Linked DNA regions of Homo sapiens: regions 1 and 3 are each linked to region 2. The links are contacts of gene promoters, found by promoter capture Hi-C in human tissues and cell types (Jung and others, 2019). All regions are on one chromosome and are shown on one strand. Each heading gives the region's core, a stretch centred on a gene start or on the middle of the fragment in contact. The rest is flanking DNA. Distances are from core to core; before and after follow the strand shown.

The links. The method cuts DNA at HindIII sites, captures the fragments that hold promoters and counts their contacts. A contact is called where the count stands out against the background at its distance.
Region 1: a contact is called between a fragment that was not itself captured here and the fragment with the promoter of ERMN in region 2, in 2 of the 25 tissues and cell types used here (mesenchymal stem cells and spleen).
Region 3: a contact is called between a fragment that was not itself captured here and the fragment with the promoter of ERMN in region 2, in 1 of the 25 tissues and cell types used here (thymus).

The regions. Positions count from the first base shown.
Region 1 is chr2:157,946,514-157,950,993 of GRCh38, reverse strand. No RefSeq gene overlaps it. Among named protein-coding and RNA genes, the nearest start is that of ACVR1, 72 kb to the right of the region's middle. The HindIII fragment of the contact is 4,456 bases long and covers 199-4,480 here.
Region 2 is chr2:157,323,314-157,327,376 of GRCh38, reverse strand. ERMN (ermin) reads left to right here and starts at 1,553. Exons shown (of 3, transcript NM_020711.3): 1 at 1,553-1,975; 2 at 2,615-2,707. The coding sequence starts at 1,735. RefSeq lists an enhancer at 1,120-1,669. The HindIII fragment of the contact is 5,881 bases long and covers 1-3,444 here.
Region 3 is chr2:157,990,849-157,995,379 of GRCh38, reverse strand. It overlaps a transcript of UPP2 not described here. Among named protein-coding and RNA genes, the nearest start is that of UPP2, 110 kb to the left of the region's middle. The HindIII fragment of the contact is 8,976 bases long and covers 1-4,531 here.

The DNA of each region.
Region 1 (4,480 bases), core at 1,177-3,676, 620 kb before region 2:
GTCCATCAATGGATGAATAAAGAAAATGTGTATCTATACAATGGAATGCTATTCAGTCTTAAAAAAGAAGGGAATCTTGTCATGTGACAACATGGATAAACGTGGAGGACATTATGTCAAGTGAAATATGCCAGGCACGGAAAGACAATCTGAAAAAGTCAAACTCATAGAAGCAGACAGTAGAATTAGAATGGTGGTTATTAGGGGCTCATGGTTCCCCGTTGGTCGGGAAGGTCATGACATAAAATAGCAGGATTGGAGATATAGATGCTAGTCAAGAAAAGTCAAGAAATATAAATTTTGAGTTAACTATCAGAAATACCTTCAGGAGATGTATGTTGCGGTGACTATTGTTAATAACATATTGAATATTTGAAAGTAGCTAAGAGAGTTGGTTTTAAGTGTTCTCAGCACAAAAAAATAAGTGAAGTAATGCATATGCTAATTAGCTTGATTTAGCCATTCCACAATGTATGCATATATCAAAACATCATGTTGTACACCATACATATATACAATTTTTAGTCATCAGTTAAAAAAGGGAAAGAAAAGGTGGCTCACATTTCTCCCATTGAATCTTCTTTTTTTCTAAGTGCAGTCATCCCTTCGTATCCTCAGGGGATTTGTTCCAGGACCCCCGAGGATACCAAAATCCATGGAAGCTCAAGTCCCTGATATAAAGTGGTGTAGTATTTGCTTATTATCTGAGCACATCCTCCTATACACTTTAAATCATCTCTAGATTACTTATAATGCCAACACAATGTGAATGCTATGTGAAGCATTGTTGTATTGCATTCTTTTGAATTGGCATTCTTTTTTATCATTGTCTTGTTATGTTTAATTATTTTTTTCCAAATATTTTCTAACTGAGACTGGTTAAATCCATGGATGGGGAACCACAGACACAACAAAGGACCAACTATAATTTCACTTGTATAAGTTCCTTATATGTGAGGAGAGTAAAGGAAAGAAAATTTCAAAGGTCACAGAATTATTAATTGACAAGGTAGAAGCTCAGCTTCCTTAAGTTCTAGCCAAGCTTCTTTGATATAGTAAAGTATTTACAAAGGAGTCAATGTTCAACTCTTATTAATATTATGGGTTTAAAATGTTTTCATTATCTAATTATACTTGGTCTCCTCTGATTTTGTTACCACTCCCCACTCATGCAACGTCATGCTCTCTTACTGGATACCTGATGGTTTCTTCCCTTTTATACTGGGATCTTTCCATTTGGCTCTACCAGACAAATTTCATTTAAGCAAATTATTAGAATCAGACGAGAAATTTTAAAGGCAATGTGACACGTTTTGCCTAAGACTTGGGCAAATGTCTGAAACTCTCTATACTCCAGTTCATTTTAGCTTCATATCTGTGATTGTTTGCTCTTTATAAATACTCACAACAGGGTTATAATATCCCAGGTATTAACTGAGCCTGTAAAACTGCCTGTGATTTTAGGTGGAGGATAAAGGGAAAGAGACAGAGCTGATTCTACCGGGGATCCAACAGAGCTTTGATGATATGGACTGTTTCCTGTTTTGCCTGTGAAGATTGTCCAGAGCTAAAGTAAGAAAACATGTGGAGAATATGGAGATAAAATATGAGACAAAAGGTAGAAAATGGACAAAAGGAAAATAATATATGTATTATACATTTTATAATTAAGAGTGTAAAGGATTAGCTGGAGGTAGTGGTGTGGGCCGGTAGCCTCAGCTACTTGGCAGGCTGAGGTGGGAGAATGATTTATAAGCCCAAGAGATGGAGACTGCAGTGAGCTGTGATTATGCCACTGCACTTTAGCCTGGGCAGCAGAGTAGGACCTTGTCTCTAAATTAAATTAAAGAATGTAAAGGGGAGCCAGGCACAGTAACACACATCTGTAATCTCAACTACTTGGGAGGCTGAGGTGGGAGGATTACTTGAGACCAGCAGTTTGAGGTCAGCCTGGACAACATAGTGAGACCCCATCTCTACATAAAAGAAAAAGAAAGAATGTGAAGGGGAATGCTCAGGTGGTATTGCTATGAACTACACTGTCACTATATCAAACAGATCAATTTTAGCTGTAAATGACAGAGACCTTAAAAAATGGTGACTTAACCATTAGGAAAGTTCTTCCTCAACAGACAGCAATCTGGAGGTAGGTGATCCCCAGTTGGGTGGGGAGCTCATGACATAGCAAGGGCCCACACTTTTCCCACCTGCTTAGAGGACCATCCTCTGCATGTCGACCAAGTTTCCCATTTTGATCATAAGGTGGCTGCTGGAGCTCCCAGCACAAAATTCTCACACATCAGCTCCTATCAATACCTAAGCAGGAAGGAAGTGGATATGGGTAAAGAGAGACTTTTCTTTTTCTATGCCTTTCTCTTAACTGAGAGGACAGTCTTTTTCTAAACTACTCAACAGAACTTAGTAGCATGCCCCTAGACCAACACAAAGAGAAATGGGATGGCAGTGTTGTAAACCAATCCTAATTCATGTCTTAGGATTAGACATACTACTATAAGAGAGAAGGTAGACTGGCCAATGGGTAGGCAAGCATCAGAATCAGTCACACAAATACACACACACACACAAACACAGAATCAATCAACTATCAGAATTAATAAGGGATTTGGGCGAGGTTGACAGACGCAAGACTATACTAAAAAACGGATTGCCTTTAGCCTCAATAACAAAATAAGAGTATTTTGTAAATTATGCCATTCATTTTTGCAACAAAAATAAAGTATCTTAAATTAACCCAGATATTTTGTTAACATTAGCCAATTGACCAAGAATACACAAGACATCTATGGAGGAAATTTTAAGACTTTTATAAAGGGCACAGATATGAATTTAGTACATGAAAAGACTTTATAGTCTCAAACATAATATTTTAAATATCTAATTACACTAACGTAAAAATCAATTAATATATGTAAAGCAGTTGATTAAAATTCCAGTTAGATTTCGTGAGGAAATTTATACTCTAGAATTTATATGCCAACTAATTTCCTAGACTAAGTTGCCATTTTAAATGTAGACTCCTACTTTGTAATATTAAAACATAAACAGTAGTAATAAGGAGCAGGATGGTGTTTATTTGAATAAGGAATTGAAAAGGGAAGCAGAATTTCTATTCATAGAATAATGGATTTACTATAGTGTTAAGCTTTAGGCAATTATGGGAGCTGGCAGAAGAGTCTATATAAGCTTTTGCATCTGCATCTAGTGTTGACCTCAAGCGTTTATAGGTCAGACAGACTAGCAGATGGAAAGGAAAGCTAGCTGTGGCTGAGAAGATGGGCAAACTGGAACCAGTGAAGACAAACTGGAGCTGGAACTGGAACCCACAAGACAGAGCAGAACCAGTGTGTGTCTCTTGCCATTTCCAACATCAGTGCTATGAGTGATCAGTAGAAGGTGGGACCTTTCACCATGGAACTGTCCACATACTTGGGGCAGAAATTGGAGAATCTGGTGGAGATTTGACAGGAGCTGGAGGAGCTGGATGTCTCAGTTGATTCAATAAGATAAGCCAGCAGATCAGTAACAATGCATGCAAGATGTTGCTATACATGGCACTTTCTGAGGACCTTCAGAGCAGATAGATGATAGATAGATAGATAGATAGATAGATAGATAGATAGATAGATAGATAGATAGACAGATAGACAGATAGATAGACAGATAGCTGCCCCTTCACTTACCACTTTTCAAGTATCACACAAAATGCCTCCTGTGGCCAAAACAAACTGAGGACCATAAGGAAAAAATAATTACAGGAAATGTAATTCCAGTAAAACTAATCTGACACAGTTCAAAGCTATCACAATATTGTATTGTTGGTTTGGTTCAAGAACAAACAGACAAAAAACAGAAGTGAGTGCCAGGGACATGTTTATACAGAAACTTAATAGACACTAAAGGAAAACTAGCTATATGCACACAAAGACTGGATCTTTATACAACATAATAAAAAATGGACTCCAGATAGATTTAAGAATAAATATGCTGTAATCCCAGCACTTTGGGAGGCCGAGGTGGGTAGATCACAAGGTCAGGAGTTCAAGATCAGCCTGGCCAAGATGGTGAGACCCCATCTCTACTAAAAATACAAAAAATTAGCTGGGCATGGTGGCGGGCGCCTGTAGTCCCAGCTACTCGGGAGGCTGAGGGAGAGAATTGCTTGAATCCGGGAAGCGGAGGTTGCAGTGAGCCAAGATCGCACCACTGCACTCCAGCCTGGGTGACAGAGCGAAACTCCGTCTCAAATAAATAAATAAATGAATGAATAAATAAATAAAAGAATAAATATGAATGTTATAACTATAAATTTATAAAATAAAATATAGAACATTTTTGTGACTTAGGAGTAGGGAAGGGTTACTTATACAAAACTTCAGAAGCACAAGCTATAACAAAAAGAAAAAAAGTAAAGTAATTTGATTACACCTAAATTGAGGCTTTCTGTTGAACAGAGAATACT
Region 2 (4,063 bases), core at 304-2,803:
ACATAGAATTAGAGTGCTGACTAGAGAACAGCTGGTGATGACGCGGGAGGGAGATCTAGGATCTATTAGAGATGTCTTCCAAGGACAAGGGAGAGGGGATTATACAAGAGTGAGGTGTTGTCCCTGATATAGACCTGAATGGGCTCAGCCCTAGACACACTTTTAAAGGTGATATGCTTACTACAACTCTTCAACACCTATTCTTCTTCTCTTTAAAAATGATCTGAAATTTATTCTCTTGGGGATAAAATTTATTGTATATATTATATATATAATATAATTCTTGTTATGTATGTGTATATATATAATTATTTGTGTATATATGTGTATATATATAATTATTTTTATTGCGTGCTACTATTCCAAGCCAGATGCTAAGTGCTGGGGACACATGTAAGCAAGTTAAACTGGCCCCTCGCCAGATGAAACTTAGTTTGCAGTTGGTGAAACAGACATTACAGAGATAATTGTGCAGTTGCTTATTTAGTTACAACCATGAAGAATACTCTGAAGGGCAAAGACAATGTGTAACAGAGTCCTGTCCTAATCCTGGCGGTTAGAGATAGTGTAGTTAAGGAGATGATATTTAAGCTTAAAAACAGAACTTAGGGAAGCTGGTCAGCCCAGGGCTTGGGCTTGAGGAAGAGAAGGGCATTTCACATAGAAGGAGCTGTGTGGGCAAAGGCTCTGGAACCATTTTGTACTATGAGAAATCCAAAAAAGAAAAAGATTTAAAAAGGAAGGGGTGGTCAGTAGCAGTCATTTAACATAATCACCTGTTTCTCCCAAGGGCAGATTGCATTGGTCCTCTACATTTTACCAGCATTGTGTAATATCAGTATGGAATAGAAAGGATTGTAATTCTGATTGGGGGAGGAGAAACCTTCATGGCGATAATTTTATTAGGGTTTTAAAGGATCGGCTGGGCTTCAGCAGACATAAACTAGAGGATAAGAAGCTATAGACTAAGTAAATTACTCTGAAATTATAAAACTTTTGGTATTAGCAAGTTGGTAGAATTTGTTTATTTCATAGGTCCCTTCTCCAGCCTGCTGGAAGCACACCATCAAATCTGCAGCCAGAACCATTTACAGTAAAGTTGTCCTGTTTATAGGTTTTTTCCATAAGCTGTTTTATTTTTTAATAAATAAGAAACAATGCCATTGTCCTTTACAAAATAGCTGAGGTTTTACTTGAACAAAATCTGTTTGGAAATGTTAAGCTGGTTACACAGAACTAATATGCCTCAAGGTGGTCATTCTCTCTGGATTAAAGCTGTGGGACAATTGTGGCTCCTGTTACAGGGAAAATTACAATGGGCCATTATGAAAAGGGACAAAAATCTCTGTTCCCAGAGGGGGACTGACAAGCTGAAAGTCCCTCTCTACATGCCAACACAAAAGCCTGATTGCTTCAGATTGTTTGTTTATGTAAATCAAAAGGATGCCTTTAACTCTGCCAGGGAACTGGCAAGCAACAAAGAAGGTGGTGATTGGCTGGATTCTTGCTCATGGCTCCTGGCAGATCTGACAAATCCTCTTGCTTTTGCTCTAATCTCTGTCTGGATACTTTTAGGAAAAGAACCTTGTTATTATGTACTAAAGTGAATAATTTGTGCTCTTAGAGTAGGAGTTGGAACTATAGGACTTGAAGGCAAGAGCAGGTATCTTATCAAGGATCTACTCACTCAGTTTCCCTAAAGCTCTCTCTCCAGATCGGATTCAACCGCACATCATGACAGATGTTCCGGCTACATTTACCCAGGCTGAGTGTAATGGGGATAAACCACCTGAAAACGGTCAACAAACAATCACTAAAATCAGTGAGGAATTGACTGATGTGGACAGCCCCCTGCCACACTACAGGGTAGAACCCAGTCTGGAAGGTGCACTCACCAAAGGAAGTCAGGAGGAAAGAAGAAAATTACAAGGGAACATGCTGCTCAACTCATCCATGGAGGACAAAATGCTAAAAGGTAAAGTGTTTCCCTTCTCCTTAATTTTCTTGTTTTGACTTATAAATTTACCCTGGATTTTTTTGATAAACTATTATCGAAATGAGCTGGACACCCCAAAAATGTAGCCCTTTATTCTACTACGCATAGTATAAGGACTAAACCTCTGCCTCTGGTGAAATCCAGGCTGGTCTATTTGACAGCTGTGACCCCAGACAACTTTCTGTCTCCCGAAGCCTGAGTTTTTTTCACTAGAAGAAGGCGGAATAATAATAATAACTACAAGTCTAGGGTAAGTATTGGCTAAATGTTAACTACTGTATTTATTATGATTATGGACAGCCCCATATTATTTGAACAAAGAGAATTCAAAATGTTAAAATTTCCTTCTAAATATAACTGAAGTTCTCTGAATTTATGGTTCTATATCTTATATATATATCTTATATAAATATTAAAGGAGAGATTACAATCAATAAAGTGATCATTAAGTAAATAAATTGAATTGATAAAGAATGAATCCAAAGAGTGAAATAGTAAATTTTAATGATCAGATTTAAAATTAAAGACTTCTACCTAGAGTTTAAATTGATAACTTATTAACTGTTGAACAATAAATATTTTAAATGTTAAAATACTGATTTTATATTTTTTTCCTAGAAAACCCAGAAGAGAAACTCTTTATTGTTCATAAGGCTATCACAGATCTTTCTCTCCAAGAAACTAGTGCTGATGAAATGACATTCAGAGAAGGTAACAAGAACTACAGTTTTGTACACAGAAATTGTTTGACTGAGTATGGATGACAGTCTTTCCATGAAATGTTGCATGAGCGTGGGGTTGACAAAGCAATCCAGGCAATGACTTCAAATTTTCAAAGCTGCTGTAGGCAGATAAGAGAGTCTTAACTTATCTGTGGGTTCCACCTTATAAAGCATTCCAGACTGTTCAAGGCTGAGGCTGCATGGAATGGCATAGCTGATTGGCATACCAACGTGATGTCTATCTCTTAAGTTAGTCCACTGAGTCAACCCTACTTTTTGATTTGGTGTGTCCAAATCTGTGTGTGCACCTTGTGAAAGGTAAATGTTTCAAAAACGGGTCTTTCCTAAAAGTCTACAATTAACATACAGCTTTTTTTTTTTTTTTTGAGACGGAGTGTCACTCTTGTTGCCCAGGCTGGAGTGCAATGGTGCAATCTCGGCAGACTGCAACCTCTGTCTCCAGGGTTCAAGCGATTCTCCTGCCTCAGCTTCCTGAGTAACTGGGATTACAGGCACCTGACACCACGCCCAGCTATTTTGTGTGTGTGTGTGTGTGTGTGTGTGTATTTTTAGTAGAGACGGAGTTTCACCATGTTGGCCAGGCTGGTCTTGAACTCCTGACCTCAGTTGATCCACCTGCCTTGGCCTCCCAAAGTGCTGGGGTTACAGGCGTGAGCCACTGTGCCCGGCCAACATACAGTTTAAAGTAATCTCACGAAATGATTTACTTTATAGGCCTCTAATGTAAATACAAAATTGTTAACTATTTCATGTCAAAGAAAGACAGGGTGATAAAGTTAATTTTAATTGTGTTCTTTAAGAAAATGGAAGAATAAAAAGAACATTGAAGTGATTATGTTAAATTTTAAATAAACTTAATAGACTAAGAGACACAAAATCCTTTAGATTTTTCTAAGACACCTACATTTAAACAGTTCCCAAATAAAGTGTAGGATAAAATCTATTAATTAATCATTTCTTTCCTCTCTTGCAGCCATACACATCTTATGTCAAATTGAAGTCAGCTTGCTAAACCTAACCAATTTAGCTTTGTTAGGACTTTAACAGGCAAAATATTGAAGAGACTATTGGTTGAAATATTAGAACATCACATAAAATAGTAGATGTCAAGGAGGACAGGAATGTGATTGGCTATTTCCTACATCTGCTCCCTTTGCCTGAACACCTCTCATACTATGTCTGCTTAGCAGTGTAGCAACACTTAAGGAAATATGTAGCAAGCAATAGACAGTGTCAAGCTGTCACATTACCAGAGATAATTTTTAAGACTTAAGACTTCACAATATGAACTTAATAACCTCTTTGCCCTAATTATTCTGCTTCC
Region 3 (4,531 bases), core at 883-3,382, 670 kb before region 2:
GGAAGCTGAAATGTGGAAAACATCAACCACATAATTCAAAATTAATTTGTACTGAGACTTGGAATATGACCAGACACATGTGCTTAGACATGAATGTATTTCTCCTCTTCCCTCACTAACCTTCAGGCCTTGTCCTCACCACTTCTTGGTCTGGGTCCAACTCACAGCCTGGGGCCAGCATGGCAGCACTGGTGAAGTCCCTAGGAATAAAAAAAATGTTTGAGAAAAGAGTGGTGACAATGACTGGGCTCTGAATTGTGAACATTTACACGTGTAAATGCAGAAACACCCATATACGATCATCCACATATTAATTTTCCACCTAGACTCATTACTTTTCCATAACTCTGATGAAAAGGGGAGTTTTATTTGTGTAGAATCTTTCCGATTTGGTGATAGTGGTGACTGGAATAATAGTAAGAAAAGATATCTTGGCAGGACTGGCTACATCATTTAAGGGACCCAATGCAAAATGAAAATGCAGGCTCCTTGTTCTAAAATGATTAAGAATTTTAATACTGAGACAGCAGAGCATGAAACCAAGCTCAGAGCCCTTCTAAATTCAGGTCTCTGTGTGACTGTACTGGTCACGGGCCCATGAAGCCAGTCCTGAGTTTTAGAGTCAGGTAGATATGGGATCAAATTCTCGATTTTTTCATTTATAAGCTGAGTATCTTGGCTAAATTATTTAAACTTTCAAAGTTTCAGTTATGCAATCTTAAAATGGGAGTGATGTGAGTGTGGCATTATTCTCAAGATTGCTGTGAGGATTAAAAGAGAGAGCATTCTATTAGGTGCATACCATAGTGCCTGGCTCAGGGAGACTGTTCATCTTCTCTATGTTGTATACTGCAGTTAGAGTTTGATATAGTTTGAATATTTGTCCCCTCCAAATCTCATACTGAAATTTGATCCCCAATGTTGGAGGTGGGGCCTAGAGAGAGGTGTTGGGGTCATGAGGATGAATCCCTCACAAATGGCTTGGTGCCATTCTTGCGGGATTGAGTGAGTTCTCACTCTTAGTTCCTGTTAGATCTGTTAAAGAGTCTGACACCTCCCTCCCCACCCCTCTTCCTCTCTCTCTCATTCTCTCTCTCTGTTCTTTCCCTTTACCATGTGATGCCTGCTCTCCTCTGCCTTCCACCATGAGTGGAAGCTCCATGAAGCCCTCACCAGAAGCAGACGCTGGTGTCATGGTCATACAGCCTGCAGAGCCATGAGCCAGATAAACCTCTTACTTTTACAAATTACCCAGACTCAGGTATTCTTTTATAGCAACATGAAACAGTCTAAGAAAGAGTTCATATTCTAAAGTGCAAACTTGAAAGTTTGATATGGTTTGGCTCTGTGTCCCCATCCAAATCTCATGTTGAATTGTGACCCTATGTGTTGGAGGTAGGGCCTGGTGGGAGGTGATTGGATCATAGGGGTGGTTTCTGATGGTTTGGCACCATCCCCCTAGTACTGTCTCATGATAGAGTTCTCAAAAGATCTGGTTGTTTGAAAGTGTGTAGCACTTCCCCCTTTGCTCTCTCTCCATCTCCTGCTCCGCCATGATGAATATATGCTTGGTTCTGCTTCATCTTCCGCCATAATTTTAAGTTTCCTGAGGCCCCGCAGCCATGCTGCCTATACAGCCTGCAGAACTATGAGTATATTAAATCTCTTTTCTTCATAAATTAGCCAGTCTCAGGTAGTTCTTTATAACAGTGTAAGAACAGACTTAATAGAGGGTTTCTCCCTGATTTAAGATTATTTTTGGTTATCCATTATCTACGAAACAAAATGAAAATGCACATTATGACATATAAGGACCTTAACTATTCAGGTTTTATCAATCTCTCTAAAACTTGCCACCTACCACTCTCACATATGTTCAAAGTATAATTTGTATTTATTTTCACTTTTCCTTAAGAACCAGTAAATATAATAGGCATAGATGACAAATAATAAATTAGCATGTGCCAGGCACTGTGCTAATCATTCTGTGGGAGGGAATACTCATTCTCCACTCCTGCTGTTTCCTCCCATGAGAGAGAGCTGCATGAGCTGTAACATTCCTGGATACTTCCACCTCCTCATTTATCCTCCCCTGGCAAGGATAAGTTGAGAGAATCTGGGTATTTGTATTCCAGCCTCTTTCTCTTTTGGTAGCAACTCTCACAGGGAGCATGATTTTAGGCAAGCTGTAAGCATAGTGGCAAAGACCTTTTCCCGGTGGAACGACCCATTGTCCAGGACTACCTGATACCAGTTGGTGAGCCTGTCTATTTCTGGTATTCAGCGTCAGGAAGCCTAAGTTCTCCAGTGTCAGCTTTATCAATGATAATGGTCTCCTGCCTGCGTTACTCTTGTCTGTTTCTAAATTGGTTCAGAACTTGGGTGGGGAAAATGGGTATTATTTACTGAGGATACGTAAGTATCCCAACAAAGTCTACATTCATTGTCTCCTTTATACCTCAGAGCTACCATATGAGGTAAGCATATCTATCATCCAATTTTTATAGATAAGGAAAGTAAGGATTAGCAATCAAGTAAGTGGCATAATCAAGATCTAAACAGTTCTATCTGATGCCACAGATTATGCCCTTACATTTTCCCATTTTGTTTTTGCATGAAGGTTTAATAATAAACTGATAAGAACATTCAAAATTTGAGTTCATGTTGAAAAAAAAAAAGCTAACACAGTATTATATGCAGTGTACTTATATTCTATCTGGCAGAAAAGTTAGCCAAGCTAAACTTAAATTCAGCACATGCTGAATTTTATTTTAGGGAGAACAAGCTGCAATCATAATAAAGAACTGTATTTACAGCTAACAGCAATACCCACGTTTCTCTATAGGTCTTACACTACAATCTGAAATTGCATTTCATGATTTACAAGGTCTGAGACATAAACAGTAAAAGGTATGTTTCTGGGAATTTTCTCATTAACAGCCACAAAACAAGCAATTTTATGTGGAATTGCTTTGTTCACCTTTTCTGAAATATGTGCAAGATCTCTCTTTGATGTTGAATCCATTCTGATTTGAACATCTCAATATTTTTGATGTTCCATGAACTCCTCCACACCCCACCTATCTCCGGGAAGCTCAGACCTCCCTACCTACTTGGTGAAAAGAAGGAAATTTAGAACATTTGAGCTCGCAGGCTGCCTACTTAAGACTACCCGAAGAATGAGCTCTGCTTACCCCTGTTCCTTCGTAGGTACATGAATGAGTCGTCAAAAATTCACTAATAGTTGATTAATGCAGTTGTGACAGTATGAAAAACAACAAAAGGAGTGCAGTGCTGAAGAAATTCTAGATCTTGCAGATTTAATGCATCCACTTATATCCATAACTCAATCCCTTTTCATATGACACTAGTTATTGTTGTTACTGTCTTCCATAACCATTCCTACCACGACTCCAGTCCAGGCCATACCCCCTTCTTCTTGTCACAAGAACATCAACACTCTGCAGTCTTTTCTTCTTTATCATGTCTTCATCCCTCCATACTTTGCTCACCAAGATGTGTTTTTCCATCTGTCATATTTGTCTAATCCTGTTGATTTAATGCACTATATTTCTACTAAGAAAACAGTACATACAAAATACTCCCAAGCATCTAACTACTTTTAAAAATATAGATCTTTCTAAATTACCCATATGTATTGCCTGACCTGGCATCTCTCTCTATTTTCATACAGTGCTCAGCACTCCTGATTAATTGTCTCTTTAATATTTTATCCAAAATTGCACTGGGAAACCAAGAAAACAGGACAAAGGAATGTCATTTGTACTTTTTGTAATCTTCATTATTTACCAAATGTATTTTTCTTATAACCACCTTTGTAGTACTTCAAGATATGCCTAACAGGCACTGTTAGCTCTTTTACAGGCCTGTGGATAATGGAAAGTATGGAGAATCCTGGCTTGGAAAGGCAATAAATAAGGTTATTTTGACACTACTCTCTATTGGAGGAATTGTGATTGTTTTTGATTTTGTTTCTGTTTTGAGAGAAGAAGCTTGCCTAATGGCAATCCATAAGACATTCTGGAGAACAGTTATAGATTCAAAATGTGAGTTTTAGTCTACTTGAATGTAGCACCTTGTTAACAAAAAGGCTTCACTTTTATTGCCTCACTGATAATTCACATAACCTGCTGACATAGTGCTATGGTCTGAATGTGTGTATACCCCCAAAATTTGTATACTGAAACTTAGTTCTCAAGGTGATGGTGTTAAGAGGTGGGGCCTTTGGGAGGTGATTAAATCATGAGGGCTCTGCCCTCAAGAATGATGTTAGGTACCCTCTTAAAAGGCCTTGAGTAAGTGAAGTTTGGCTCTCTTGTTCTTCCACCTCCCACCCCGTGATATTGCAGATTTCACAACAACAAGGCACCATCTTGGGAGCAGAGAGCAGCTCTCCAAACATTAATGCTAGCACCTTGATCTTGGGCTTCTCAGCTTCCATAATTGTAAGAAACCAATTTCTTTTCTTTATAAGTTACCCAGCCTAAGGCATTTTGTTATGGCAGCACAA